Regions from separate parts of the Homo sapiens genome. Here region 2 is linked to region 1. Evidence: promoter capture Hi-C in 16 types of primary human blood cells and fetal thymus (Javierre and others, 2016). All regions are on one chromosome and are shown on one strand. The core of a region is centred on a gene start or on the middle of the fragment in contact, and the rest is flanking DNA. Distances in the headings are between cores, read along the strand shown.

Region 1 (6,467 bases), core at 3,475-5,974:
GCGTAAAAAGGCTAATTTACACATAAAGCATCCAGCATCACACTTAGGTCAAGGTAAACCCTCAAAACATAAGCAGCCCCCCGGGTGTCCTCAGCAGCAGCAGTGAAAATCCAGTCACATTCGGCCTCTGCCAGCCTCACAGGTGTTTTCAGATCCCCTTTTATGCTGCAACATTTTCCGCAGCAACCACCGCCATTCCTTTAACAGTCACTGAGCAAGTGCATCTGCTATGCCAGGCGCTGCTCTGAGCTTCGGGGCCAGACTCCATTGCTGCCGTCTGCAGCGTGGTCTGGTGGTGATTATGAGCAGGCCATGGGTGTTCTGACCAAGGTGACTGTGAGTTACAGGAGCTCAGTCGGCACAGGCACCCTGGAGTTATGCATACCTACTCTGTCCCTCAAGAAAACACAGAATGCAAGTGATAGCAAGGGCTGTTAATACAGAAAGAGCAGTGCAACTACTCACTCTTTTTTAAGGAATTATTCGTCAAACTCTAGCATGTAACTCTGAGCATTCCAGAGTATTACAGGGTGGAAACTGCTGGCCTGTTATGTTTGCCGTCTTTACAGGTTCATCTTTCCATACACCATTTACTGGGCACCTACCAGGTGCACCTACAGGGGGTGCCCGAGACGTGCTGATGAGCAAATTAGAAATGGCCTCTACCCACATGGTCCTTACAATCTAATGATAGAGACCAATGTGAGTATTTATTAAGCACCTACCGCAATCACTTACATAGACACGTATAGCACCTGTAGTAAGTGCTATGAAGCAAACATCAAGAGTATAATGAGGACTGTACCTAGGGAACATGATCTAGATTAGAGGGTTGGGAAGGTTTCCTTTGAAGAAGTAATGCTGAACCTATTATTAATAATAGTAAACGTAAGTATTGAGGGGGCAGAGGGTGAGACCACATTCCAGGCCCCAAGGCTGGAGGGTACACTGGAGCCAGGTGAGTGGGGAGGGGTGACTGAGTGAGTGGGGGAGGGCAGCCTGAGATGAAGTCAAAGAAGCAGGCAGGGCTAGATGAAGCAATGGAAATGACTTTGGATTTTATCCTAAGGGCAGTGGGATACCACTGAAGGGTGTCATGAGAGGAGTGACATAATCAGATTTGGAGCTCTGAAGGATCATTTGACTGCTGCACACAGCACGGGCTGCAGGGAAGCAACAGCAAGAGAGACCAACTCTGGGCAACTCCAGCCACGGTCCCAGCAGGGACTGATGATGCCTGGACTAGAATGATGATGAAGGAAAGAGGGGGAGCAGACAGATTCCAGAAATTCTCAGGAGGAGAATCAACCACCAAGGCCAGGGGACAGACTGATGCAGACGGAGGGTTCTGGCAGGAACATCCAGCTAATCAGAATTACCACTTATGCAGTGGGGAAACCAGAAGCAATGTGGGGAGAAGGAGATCAAGAGTTTAACCATTAGTGTACTCTCTTACAGTATGGCCTTTTCTCTATCACCAGTGGAGTCGTGGGCAAACACTTTCAAAGGAACTGGCTTAGAGCCAAACCCTTCTTGATGGGGGATCTTCCCACAGGCTGACACTGATCCACTCTGGAATATCCTCAGTCCTTACCAATCTAACCTGGCAGCTCTTGTTCCTCCACTACACGAAGGGAGCATCATCAGAACCCTTCCCTCACATGCCTGGTGAAAACAAAGTCTCCTAACAGCCATCAACTTCACTTCCCTGATCTTCCAGCAATCCTATCATAGGTTATGAGAGCGTATAAAGAGGAAGAGAGGAGGAGAGAATCCAAGATACAGACCAGATTCAAACACAAGTTCAACACAGCCTCAAACAAGGGATCCACACTTTCACCCATTGACTCAGCTTTGCCCCATCTTTCAACTACTCACCTACACCCATGCCCTGTCAACCTGGGTCTCCTTCTGACATGTGTTCAAATGATGTAGCACCTGAATGTCATGAGGCTCTCTGTGCAAGACCATGAAATATAGATACTACATCTTTTTAACAATTAAACGTGCTCTTTCTTCTGCCAGTAAGGTTCCTGTCCCTGTCCCATCCTACAATCCTTTTGAAAAGCCACTTCCTCTGATGGCCAGTGATGATGAGCATTTTTTCATGTGTCTTTTGGCTGCATAAATGTCTTCTTTTGAGAAGTGTCTGTTCATATCCTTTGCCCACTTTTTGATGGGGTTTTTTTTTTTCTTGTAAATTTGTTTGAGTTCATTGTAGATTCTGGATATTAGCCCTTTGTCAGATGAGTAGATTGCAAAAATTTTCTCCCATTCTGTAGGTCGCCTGTTCACTCTGATGGTAGTTTCTTTTGCTGTGCACAAGCTCTTTAGTTTAATTAGATCCATCAGAGAAATGCAAATCAAAACCACAATGAGATACCATCTCACACCAATTAGAATGGCGATCATTAAAAAGTCAGGAAACAACAGGTGCTGGAGAGGATGTGGAGAAATGGGAACACTTTTACACTGTTGGTGGGACTGTAAACTAGTTCAACCATTGTGGAAGTCAGTGTGGCGATTCCTCAGGGATCTAGAACTAGAAATACCATTTGACCCAGTCATCCCATTACTGGGTATATACCCAAAGGATTATAAATCATACTGCTATCAAGACACATGCACACGTACGTTTACTGTGGCACTATTCACAATAGCAAAGACTTGGAACCAACCCAAATGTCCAACAATGATAGACTGGATTAAGACAATGTGGCACATATACACCATGGAATACTATGCAGCCATAAAAAACGATGAGTTCATGTCCTTTGTAGGGACATGGATGAAGCTGGAAACCATCATTCTCAGCAAACTATCGCAAGGACAAAAAACCAAACACCGCATGTTCTCACTCATAGGTGGGAACTGAACAATGAGAACACATGGACACAGGAAGGGGAACATCACACACCGGGGCCTGTTGTCGGGTCGGGGGGAGGGGGGAGGGACAGCATTAGGAGATATACCTAAGGTTAAATGACGAGTTAATGGGTGCAGGACACCAACATGGCACATGTATACATATGTAACAAAGGGGCACGTTGTGCACATGTACCCTAAAACTTAAAGTATGATTAAAAAAAAAAGAAAAGAAAAGCCACTTCCTCAGGGGAGCCTTCTTTGAGCTCCCAGATTAGATCCAAGGTCTGTTAAACACCCTCAGGCACCATGTACCTCTCCTTTGGAAAACTCGTGCTTGAAACTGTATGTATGTGATTTTACTGACCAATATCTGCCTGCCCCACTCGACTGTTTGTAAACCCCACAATGGCAGAGGCTTTTTGACATTTTTATTCATCACTTTATCTCTACCGTAGCAAATAATAGCCTCTAGTAATACTTAATGAATTCGGAAATAAATAACTCTATGCTAACTAAGTATCATCTTCCTAGCTGTGACTAGCAAGTACAGGTATAGGTATCAAAGTTTAAAAACAGGCCAGGTGTGGTGGCTCATACCTATACTCCCAGCCCTTTGAGAAGACAAGGTGGGAAGATTGCTTGAGACTGGGAGTTCGAGGGCAGCCTGGACAACATAGTGAGATTCCATCTCTACAAAAAGTAAAAAAAAAAAAAAAAACATAGCTGGGCATGGTGTTGTGCACCTACAATCTCAGCTACTTGGGAGGCTGAGGTGGGAGGACAGCTTAAGCCCAGAAGTTCAAGGCTGCAGTGAGCTATGATAGTGCCACTGCACTTCAGCCTGGGCAACAGAGCAAGACCCTGTCGTTTAAAAAAAAAAATGAGGACAAAAATTGGAAGTTGAAGATATTTTGGCCATTAATTTAATCGTTTATTTAACCTGGGAGAAAAACTGCCACTGTTTTATTTTAGAGCAATGCTTCCACATGGCAACACGTTCAATTGCGTTTTTCCCAAACCATGTTACTTTCCAAACGATTACAAGTAGTCGCGAAGGGTGGTCACACTTTACAAAAAGTGTAATTAAATTATAGAGTCGGCTACATCTCAGTCACTGGCCCATTCCTGGTCAACTGACAAGTAGCTGTGGTGGCTTCTAGTAGCTTGTTACAAGTCATCAAGTCAGTATGAGTGTTGGGGGATGGAAGCTATTGAAAACGGTGCTGACGGCCCAAGGAGTAGCAAACTGTCTCATGAACCGTCCTGAGCCGACTCAGTAAGGACTCAATAGAGAAGGACACTTCATTTACTTCCCTGACAACTGCAATAAAGAGGTTTTAGAGCTCGCTGAGGGATGCTGCCTGGGCAAGGGAAATAAATGTGTTGTAACATGAAACGGTCCCAATCAAGCAAGTCGGGGCCCTCTCGCTGTCGCCGACAGTCCAGAGCAAGGAAGTACACAGCAGTCCTGAACCTCAGTTTTCTGCAAACCAGAGGCTTGCCACTGAGCCTATGTGACCCGAAAGCTGCAGAAAGGAGAGGCTGTGCCCGGCACACGGAGGCCGCCTCGCCAGCCTGTGCTCCCGACCCTGCGCCTGCCGCCCCGGACTCACCTGGCCCGGGGCCCTGCGGGTCCTTCAGCTGAGCCTTGAACCGCACGCCCGTGAGCTCTTCTTTGCGGGCGCGCTTGGCTGCACCCGCGGAGGAAGCCGCGCCGTCCTGGCCGCCCGAGGCCTTCCTCTTGGGGACCCCCATGGCCGAGAGGGCGGAAGCGCGACGGAAACGACACACCTGAGGGGACCCGGCAGGAGCACTGGCACAGACAGCAGACACGCGCTTCAGGCCCACATGGCGCAGGAAGAGGCGGGGCTGGCGGAAGAGGCGGGGCTGGCGGAAGAGGCGGGGCTCGGGGAAAGGCCGGCGGAAGGGGCCGACCCGCGCGAGGCTGGGACCGGCGGAAGGGGCGTGGCCTGCAGAAGGGGCGGGGCGATAGGGATCCAGAGTCTTGGGGATCCAGAGTCTTGGGGCTCCATGTGAGTTTGCTGTACCGGTTGTCCCGGTCACGGCATGGGGCGAGCGGACACTCCACGACACCCCCCGCCCCCGGCTGCAGGGTTTGGGGTCCACCGGGGCGCATTTCTGATCCCAGTGGCTCTTCGGGTGCTCTTGGCCGGAAGAACTCCCAGACCTTTCACTCCTGGCCTGGCCGATCCACGAAGACTCGGGCCCCGGCGCGTCCAAGCAGCACAATGAGTAGTTCTTGACCCGAGGTCGCCCTGAAGGTGTCGCATGAAGAGCTTGCTTCACACACAACAGGATTCGATACTTTGCCAATTCAAGGCCCTGGTGGCTGGCCGGGAAGGTGGATTCGCCTTGGCTAGGTGCCAGGCAGGTCCGCCTGTGCGGGTGCCCCTGACTTCGACCCCTAGCTTATGTCACAGCCCGAACCAGATCGACTGGTCTGGTAGCAGCCTGTCACTCCAGACTGTCCTCCACCCCAGACTTCCGCAAACTGATGGGCTCTTTGCGCCGTGCAGGGTGGGAGGAGAAGACCAAACGAAGTAACGTCTGTAAAACCCCTTCCTGGACAGCGTAAGGCCTCCACATCTAAGTTCCTGTCATTAAAATGGAGACAGCAAAGCCGACCCTATCCAGTCCTTGGGACTGTTATGAACAGAAAATGATGCAATGTATGAAAAACTGCTTTGAGGAGAAAAACAACACAGTGTGTTTTTGGAAGATGTGATTGATTTGTAAACCGCATTAAATGCTCTGAAATAAAATGAAAGTAAAAATAAGTAAAAACAGGCTGGTACATATTTTAATACGACTTCATCGATACTTAGGTATGTGTCCAAATAAATCATGAACCAGCGCATTAGATAAGTAACTTGGTGATTACTGAAATTCTCCATCAGGTTGTCCTCTAGTCTAAGAAAATTGTGTTTCATATTCTGTAAGCAGATGTGTTTTGAACATCTGAGGATGTGGGCTTTTGTGGCCTGTTGGGGTCTCAGAGTTTCTAGTAGAAAAAGCACGTGTGTTGACGCTGAGCCTCTGTCCCGACAAGATGATTGTGCCTGTGGAGATGTCTATGTTGTAGGCAGGTCAGAGAGAGGGTGTCACCCCTAGCAGATATGAGCTAATGCAGCAATGTTAAGAGAGGGGAATATGCTCAAAAAGTCATCTGTAAAAGGCAACACTCATTAGTGAATACAGACTTAATTCTGACTGATTATCCACACTGGTCCTCTTCTTTGGTTAATCGCTAACCACCAACTTTGTTTTCTGCCATGGTGGTCCCAACCAAAAAGTTATCAGAAAGAGTTAGGAAACAGTCAAAAGCCCTGAGTTCAGTTTCTGCCTGTGTGACCTTGGGCAAATTACCATCCCTCTGTGCTGGTTTGCTTTACAAACAATTAAAGAGCATGAGGAACTTCCCAGGATTATCCAGCTAGTAACTGGTGGAGCCAGGACTCACCCAGTGTATCCTAGTCCCAAATTAAAAACAAAGAAACAGAAGTTGGCAGTGCCCATTTACAGCCTTAGCCAGAGATGTATGGATGGCAAGTGTGGCTCAGAAGTGCATTTGGATGTTT
Region 2 (6,680 bases), core at 862-3,361, 620 kb before region 1:
ATTTATTTATTTTTTGAAACAGAGCTTTGCTCTTGTTGCCCAGGCTGGAGTGCAATGGCATGATCTTGGCTCACTGCAACCTCTGCCTCCTGGGTTCAAGCGATTCTCCTACCTCAGCCTCCCAAGTAGCTGAGATTACAGGCATGCACCACCACACCCAGCTAATTTTGTATTTTTAGTAGTGACAGGGTTTCTCCACGTTGGTCAAGCTGGTCTCGAACTCCCTACCTCAGGTGATCCGCCCGCCCCGGCCTTCCAAAGTGCTGGGATTACAGGCGTGAGCTACCGTGTCTGGCCTAATTTTTGTGTTTTTTTTTTTTTTTTTTTTGAGACGGAGTCTCACACTGTCACCTGGGCTGGAGTGCAATGGTGCGATCTCAGCTCATTGCAACCTCCGTCTCCCAGGTTCAAGCGATTGTCCTGCCTCAGCCTCCCGAGTAGCTGAGATTACATAATTTTTGTATTTTTAATAGAGATGGGGTTTCGCCGTGTTGGTCAGGCTGGTCTCGAACCCTTGACCTCAGGTCATCCACCTGCCTCAGCCTCCCAAAGTTCTGGGATTATAGGTGTGAGCCACTGCGCCCGGCCTAGCATGCCTTTTTCGATGTCTTTTCCATCTTTCCTGTGTTCTTTTCATTAGGTGTTAGGATTGCTGATATGTTTGGCCTTCTTTCTGGCTGTGGCAGAAAAGTCACAATGGTCTTTCCCAAGTATATGCCATTTGGCTACCAAAAATGCATCCTCCCTTTCCTAGCATGGAAAGTGACAGCCCAGTCAAGGGCTATTTTCTCAACCCTCTTCATGCCCAGTTATGGTCATGTGATTAGTTCTCAGCAATGAAATGTGGGCAGCAGTGATGGGAATCACTAAGGACTTAATGTTTTTCTCTGCTTTTATTGAATGCGCACTTAATTGGTGATGATTTGCAGAGAAGTGGAGAAAGCAGGGAACTAAGGAGTTTCTATTTGTTTACTGATTCTAAGCCCTGAAAATGCCAGGTGATCGGGGGTGATCAGACGTGTCTGAATCACGTTGGTGGTGCCAGTGACTTGCTTGATGTTTGCCTTCCCCATCACTTCAGCTCCCTGAGGCCTGGGACTGTGCCTACCAAGTGCTACATGGTCTCCCTAAAGCTTGGGTTATAGTACACTCTTTATTAACATTTATTGTGTGAATAAATGAAATGCTTTACATTTACTGGTGACCTCATCAACTAATTCTTTTTTTTTTTTTTTTTTTGAGACGGAGTCTCGCTCTGTCACCTAGGCTGGAGTATAGTGGCGCACGTCGGCTCACTGCAAGCTCCGCCTCCCAGGTTCACGCCATTCTCCTGCCTCAGCCTCCGAAGTAGCTGGGACTACAGGCGCCCGCCACCACGCCCAGCTAATTTTTTGTATTTTTAGTAGAGACGGGGTTTCACCATGTTAGCCAGGATGGTCTCGATCTCCTGACCTCATGATCTGCCTGCCTCGGCCTCACAAAGTGCTGGGATTACAGGCGTGAACCACCGCGCCTGGCCTTCATCAACTAATTCTTTTGGTAAATGAATTTCTGCTTAAACCAGGCCAAGACCTTTCTTTATAAGAAGCCAGGCCAGTGAATCAGGGAGTGAGATCAGAGGAAAGGAAGTCTCCCTTTTGTGTCTTTAAGTCATGTATTGTGCCGTGACTAGCTGGAAAAGCTGCAAAATAGTATAATAGAAGCTGTATATATCAGCAATAGCAAGGATTACTTGTCTGAGAACCTGGTTTGTGCCAGGCACTGACCTTGATGCTTTTCATACATTGCTTCATTGAATACTCATAAAAGCTACCACACAGGTGTGATTCTCCCTATTTTACAGATGCATCAGCTGAGGCTCTGTGCGGTAAATAAGTTGTTCAATGACAGAGACCAAGTAAGTGGCCAAGTCAGGACTCATATCCGTCTTCCTGACTTCGAGCTTGAATTCCCTTCTACCATACCTTATAAAAAGAATTCAGCAGCCTGAGGTTCAAGGTTCAGCTGCATGATATTGAGAATTCATTTAGTTTCTCTGAGCCGCCATCTCCTTATTTGTGGAATGGAGATAATGATGACACTGATTGATGCTCAGCTCCTCACAGAGTTATTGTAAAGACAAGTGAGAGAATGACTATGTGTTTTGCAAGTGATTAAATTCACAAACACAAGTCACTTTACTTACAGTATACTGGAGACACTTACATTAGGCTTTTAAACATTTATATATATATGTATATATATTTTTTGATACAGGGTCTCACTTTGTCACCCAGGCTGGACTGCAGTGGTGCAATCTTGGCTCACTGCAGCCTAGACCTCCAGGACTCAAGAGGTCAGATCCTCCCAACTCAGCCTCCTGAGTAGCTGGGACTACAGGTGTGTGCCACCATGCCTGGCTAATTTTTTTTGTATTTTTTTGTAGAGATGGGGTCTCGCCATGTTACTCAGGCTAGTCTTGAACTCCTAAGCTCAAGTGATCCATCCACCACGGCCTCGCAAAGTGCTAGGATTATACGTGTGAGCCACCGCTCCTGGCCAGACTTTTTTTTTTTATTTAAAAAACTTTATTTTTAAACTTTAATTTTTGAGACAGGGTCTCACTCTGTCACCCATGCTGGGTTGCAGTGGTGTGATCATGGCTTACTGCAACCTTGACTTTTTGGGCTCAAGGGGTCCTCCTGCCTTAGCCTCCCAAGTAGCTTGGGCTACAGGCATGTGCCACCACGCCTAGCTAATTAAAAAAAATTTTTTTTGTAGAGACGGTGTCTTGCCATGTTGCCTAGGCTGGTCTCGAACTTCTGGGCTCAAGCTCCCACCTTGGACTCCCAGTGTTGGAATTACAGGTGTGAGTCAATGCGTTGGGCCGCATTAAACTTTAAAGTTTCTGAATTTGAGGACACGACTTTATGACAGGCAACCTCTCAGTTTTTCAGAATAGAAATAATCCTTTCAGTCACATGAGAGAACAGTGTCTTCTATTTTAAGTAGTCAACTTTCTCTTTAGTGTTGTTTGTATGTGGGCAAACCCTACCCAAGTTTCTGTTCCTGAAATCAATTTCTTAATTTGCATTAGGCAAAAGTGTTGCATAAGCTTATTTTATTATCATCCAGCTTTTTATAGATCTTTGCTGAGAGACAATACGGGCTTGTTGAAAGAGGCCCTGTTTGACTGTCCCAAGCCCTGGGATGGAGTCCTAGCCCTGGCACTTAGCAGCTGTGGGATCGTGGGTGAACTACTTCACCTCCCTGCTTCTCAGGCCTCTACATCTGCAAAGTGAGAACAAGGGGAGCTCTTTCCCTAAGGGCCCTTTCACTGTACTACTTAAAAATGATTGCAAAGAGTCTTGCGTTAAGCAAAACTGAACACCTGCTGTAAATGTCTGCACCTCAGCAACATGACCCACAGTAGAATCTATATTTAGTTGCATTTGGATAATCTTCCTTTCCCCTTTTGCTTTAGCACTTTCTACCTTCAATTATTTCTTTATTACAGCAATGCCCCCTTTTTGCTCTACTGATGTGGGTGAGATGCAAATGGGCCTTTTGAGACTCTTGCTGTGTCCCCTGGGCCCCAGATGGACAGATGGGAGACAGAACGATTGTGGAGTACATCTTGGAGCTGACAGGTTTTGGGGGCAGGAAGTGTTAGTCAACACATGAGAAAAATGGGGTAAACAGCTGGAAAAGGCTGAGCATTAGCTGACAGGCTCTTTAGCCAACTGTCCTAGGACTGGATCAGGGCCTTGTGCATGGTGGGAGAGGCACCTAGGACCTGTGGAAAGGACAGGAAGCCAGACCCAAGAAGCCTCAGGCTGCAACCTGGCCCTCAGTTATTATCACAAAACTTACAAAGGTGTGAGCCTCGTGAATCAGCTGCAATAGATTGTTGCCTTGAGGACAAGACAGTCTAAACAACTAAAAATTAGCCAGGTGTGGTGGCTCATGCTTGTTATCTCAGGGCTTCAGGAGGCTAAGGCAGGAGGATTGCTTGAGGCCAGAAGTTCAAGACGAGCCTGAGCAACACAGTGAGAGCCCCCCCCCAACCCCCCACCCCTCAACTTCTACAAAAAAATTTAAAAATTAGCTGGGCATGGTGGTGCACACTTGTAGTCCTAGCTACTTGGGAGGCTGAGGTGGGAGAATTGCTTGAGCCCAGGAGTTTGAGGTTGCAGTGAGTTATGATTGTGTCACTGGACTCCAGCCTGGGCAACAGAGCAAGACTCTGACTCAAAAAAAAAAAAAAACAAACCCAAAAAGCAAAAAGCAAAACCAAAAACCACACATACACAATGAAAATTATTACAAAATAGCCTGAACTTGGTAGATCCATTTCTTACACCAGGCATGGTGGCTCACATCTTTAATCCCAACATTTTGGGAGGCTGAAGTAGGCAGATTGCTTGAGCCCAGGAGTTCAAGACCAGCTTGGGCAATATAGGACACCCCATCTCTATGAATTAGCCAGGAGTGATGTCATGGGTCTGTAGTCCCAGCTACTTGGGAGGCTGGGGTGGGAGGATGGCTTCATCCTGGAAGGTAGTGGCTACAGTGAGCTGAGATTGCGCCACTACACTCCAGCCTGGGTGACAGAGAGAGACACTGTATCAATCAATTAATCAATAAATAAAATGAAAGAAAAGAAAAGAAAGCATTTCTTGAATACCAAGAAACCCAAGATATGACAGCTGATGCACATGAGGCCGTGTCCCTTCATGCAGTGAGGTGGCAAGGCCTGAACAGGCGGATGTGGCCTCTCAGGAAACTTGTCCATGATTTCTGCCTTCCTCCCCTGGGGCAGTCCTGCTTGGTTGTGTAGGAGGCAAAGGAAACTGATGGCTTGGGAAAAGTCCTGTTGATACGAAACTAACCTGTTTAAAATTTAGTGAGATTCAAGTTGTCTCTGAAAAGTAACATTTAGGCTAGTCCTGTTGGATTGTGCTTCCACCCTACTATATGCGTAACCTGTTCCTACTATAAGCAGCACTCAGCATTTACATCTGGTTTTACAGGGACCAAGGACCCATTACCATTAATGATCTGCCAAGCCACACAACAGTTCTGTGGAGGCAGATAATGATGTCCAATTTACAGACAAAGAGGGTTAGATTTGAAGATGCACAGTACTTTTCCTGGGGCCAGATCCTTTTACCAGACACAGGGAAATACATTAGAATTTTCAAGTATGTAACTCTTTGCTTTTTTGCAAGCCATGCATCCTGTTGGGTGCATTCCAAAGATTGTGGATTCTATTGGTGGATACCAACTCATACACAAAAGAGAAACTGTAGGAATTCTGCCCAAAAAGGAGGCCGTGTCTTGCTAGGCCCTCGGGTCTCTGTAGGGATGCACCTGTTGATGTCCTCTGGCCTCTTGTCCATCTTACCTGGTAAGGGGCTTCTCCCCTCTAACCCCCCCTCCCCTCACCTAATGGATCTTCCCTAAACCTAGCTTTTATCTGGTCAGTCCTTTGGAAGTTTCCAGAGTAAGAAATATGAATAAAGGGAACATGTGTACACAACTAGGGGGACAGTGAGTCCATTAGATCATTTCAGAAAACAATTTCAGAGAACCTAGGAAAGCTGGAGGCGCCCTGCCATCCAGAAGCCCTTGCACGTTCTCAACAGACAACACACATAAGAACATCCTGGCAGCATTTTTATTAGAGCAGAAATATGGAAATCAATCCAAAGTTTCGTTAATCAGATGAAAAAGTATGAGATATGTTCTCTAGTGGTGCTAGAGAACAATGGAGATGATATGTTCTCTAGTGGTGCTAGAGAACAATGGAGATGAATGAACCAGAGCCAACACCTCACTGTGGGTGAATCTCTAGAACACAAAGTTGAATGAAGAAGGAAAGTCATGGAAAAATATGCACAGTAAGATCCTATTTATATAAGGTTTGGAAATAGGTGAACTAAACAGTGTCTGTGGGGAACAGACAAATGCAGTTAAACTATCAAAATAAACAAGAGAATGATGAGTGTCTAAATCAGACTGAGTGGTTTCCTTTGAGGGGATGGGAGGGACAGAGACCAGGGAGGGGACTGCAAGGGTTTACTTCTTTGGTGATGTTCAGTTGCCTAAGCTGGGTAATAGGTCCCTAAGGATTCATTTTATTATTATCCTGCAAATCTTGCATCTGACTACACACAAACACCTGCATACATAAGTATTCTTTACTTTGCATGACATATTTTGTAATGAAAAAATACACAAATAAACCACCTCTAGGAAAACTTGCCTTTTCCCATAGCACCTCTGTCTAACTGGAAGACCCTTCCCAGTCTGGCAGCTCTGGCCTTGTAACATCAGCCAATGCTAGTATTACATTGTGCCAGGAACTGTCTTACGTGCTCTATGTCGTATTGCCATATTCAGTCCTAACAACTCTACAAGACAGGCATTATTATTATCCACATTTTATACATGAGGAAGCTGAGGCCCAGAGAGGTGAAGTCACCAATCCGAGTTAACGTGGTTAGTTCATGGCAGAGAGAGTATTGGAACCTATATGGCCTGATGGAAGAGTAGGAATATTGCTGATTTTTTTCCCTCTAGCTTTCCCTTCCTCTCTGGCTTTGCCTTTCCTCTTACTATTTCATGCACATTCCCACCTTTCCCACCCATACTCGCACGTGCCTGGTTCTCTTTGATCAGAATGGTCTTTCTCAAGT

Evidence for each region. Contacts are between HindIII fragments. The CHiCAGO score rates a contact against its expected background, and 5 or more counts as called.
Region 2: a contact is called between a fragment that was not itself captured here and the fragment with the promoter of URB1 in region 1, in 1 of 17 cell types (total B cells). The highest score is 6.1, in total B cells.

The regions. Positions count from the first base shown.
Region 1 is chr21:32,388,288-32,394,754 of GRCh38, forward strand. It overlaps URB1 (URB1 ribosome biogenesis factor), which reads right to left and starts at 4,725. Exons shown (of 39, transcript NM_014825.3): 1 at 4,482-4,725. The coding sequence starts at 4,623. It overlaps URB1-AS1 (URB1 antisense RNA 1 (head to head)), which reads left to right and starts at 4,846. Exons shown (of 1, transcript NR_026845.1): 1 at 4,846-5,673. RefSeq lists enhancers at 3,991-4,773, 4,633-4,927, 4,774-5,555, 5,078-5,327. The HindIII fragment of the contact is 11,778 bases long and covers 1-6,467 here.
Region 2 is chr21:31,769,793-31,776,472 of GRCh38, forward strand. No RefSeq gene overlaps it. Among named protein-coding and RNA genes, the nearest start is that of SCAF4, 41 kb to the left of the region's middle. RefSeq lists an enhancer at 3,032-3,321. The HindIII fragment of the contact is 1,961 bases long and covers 1,132-3,092 here.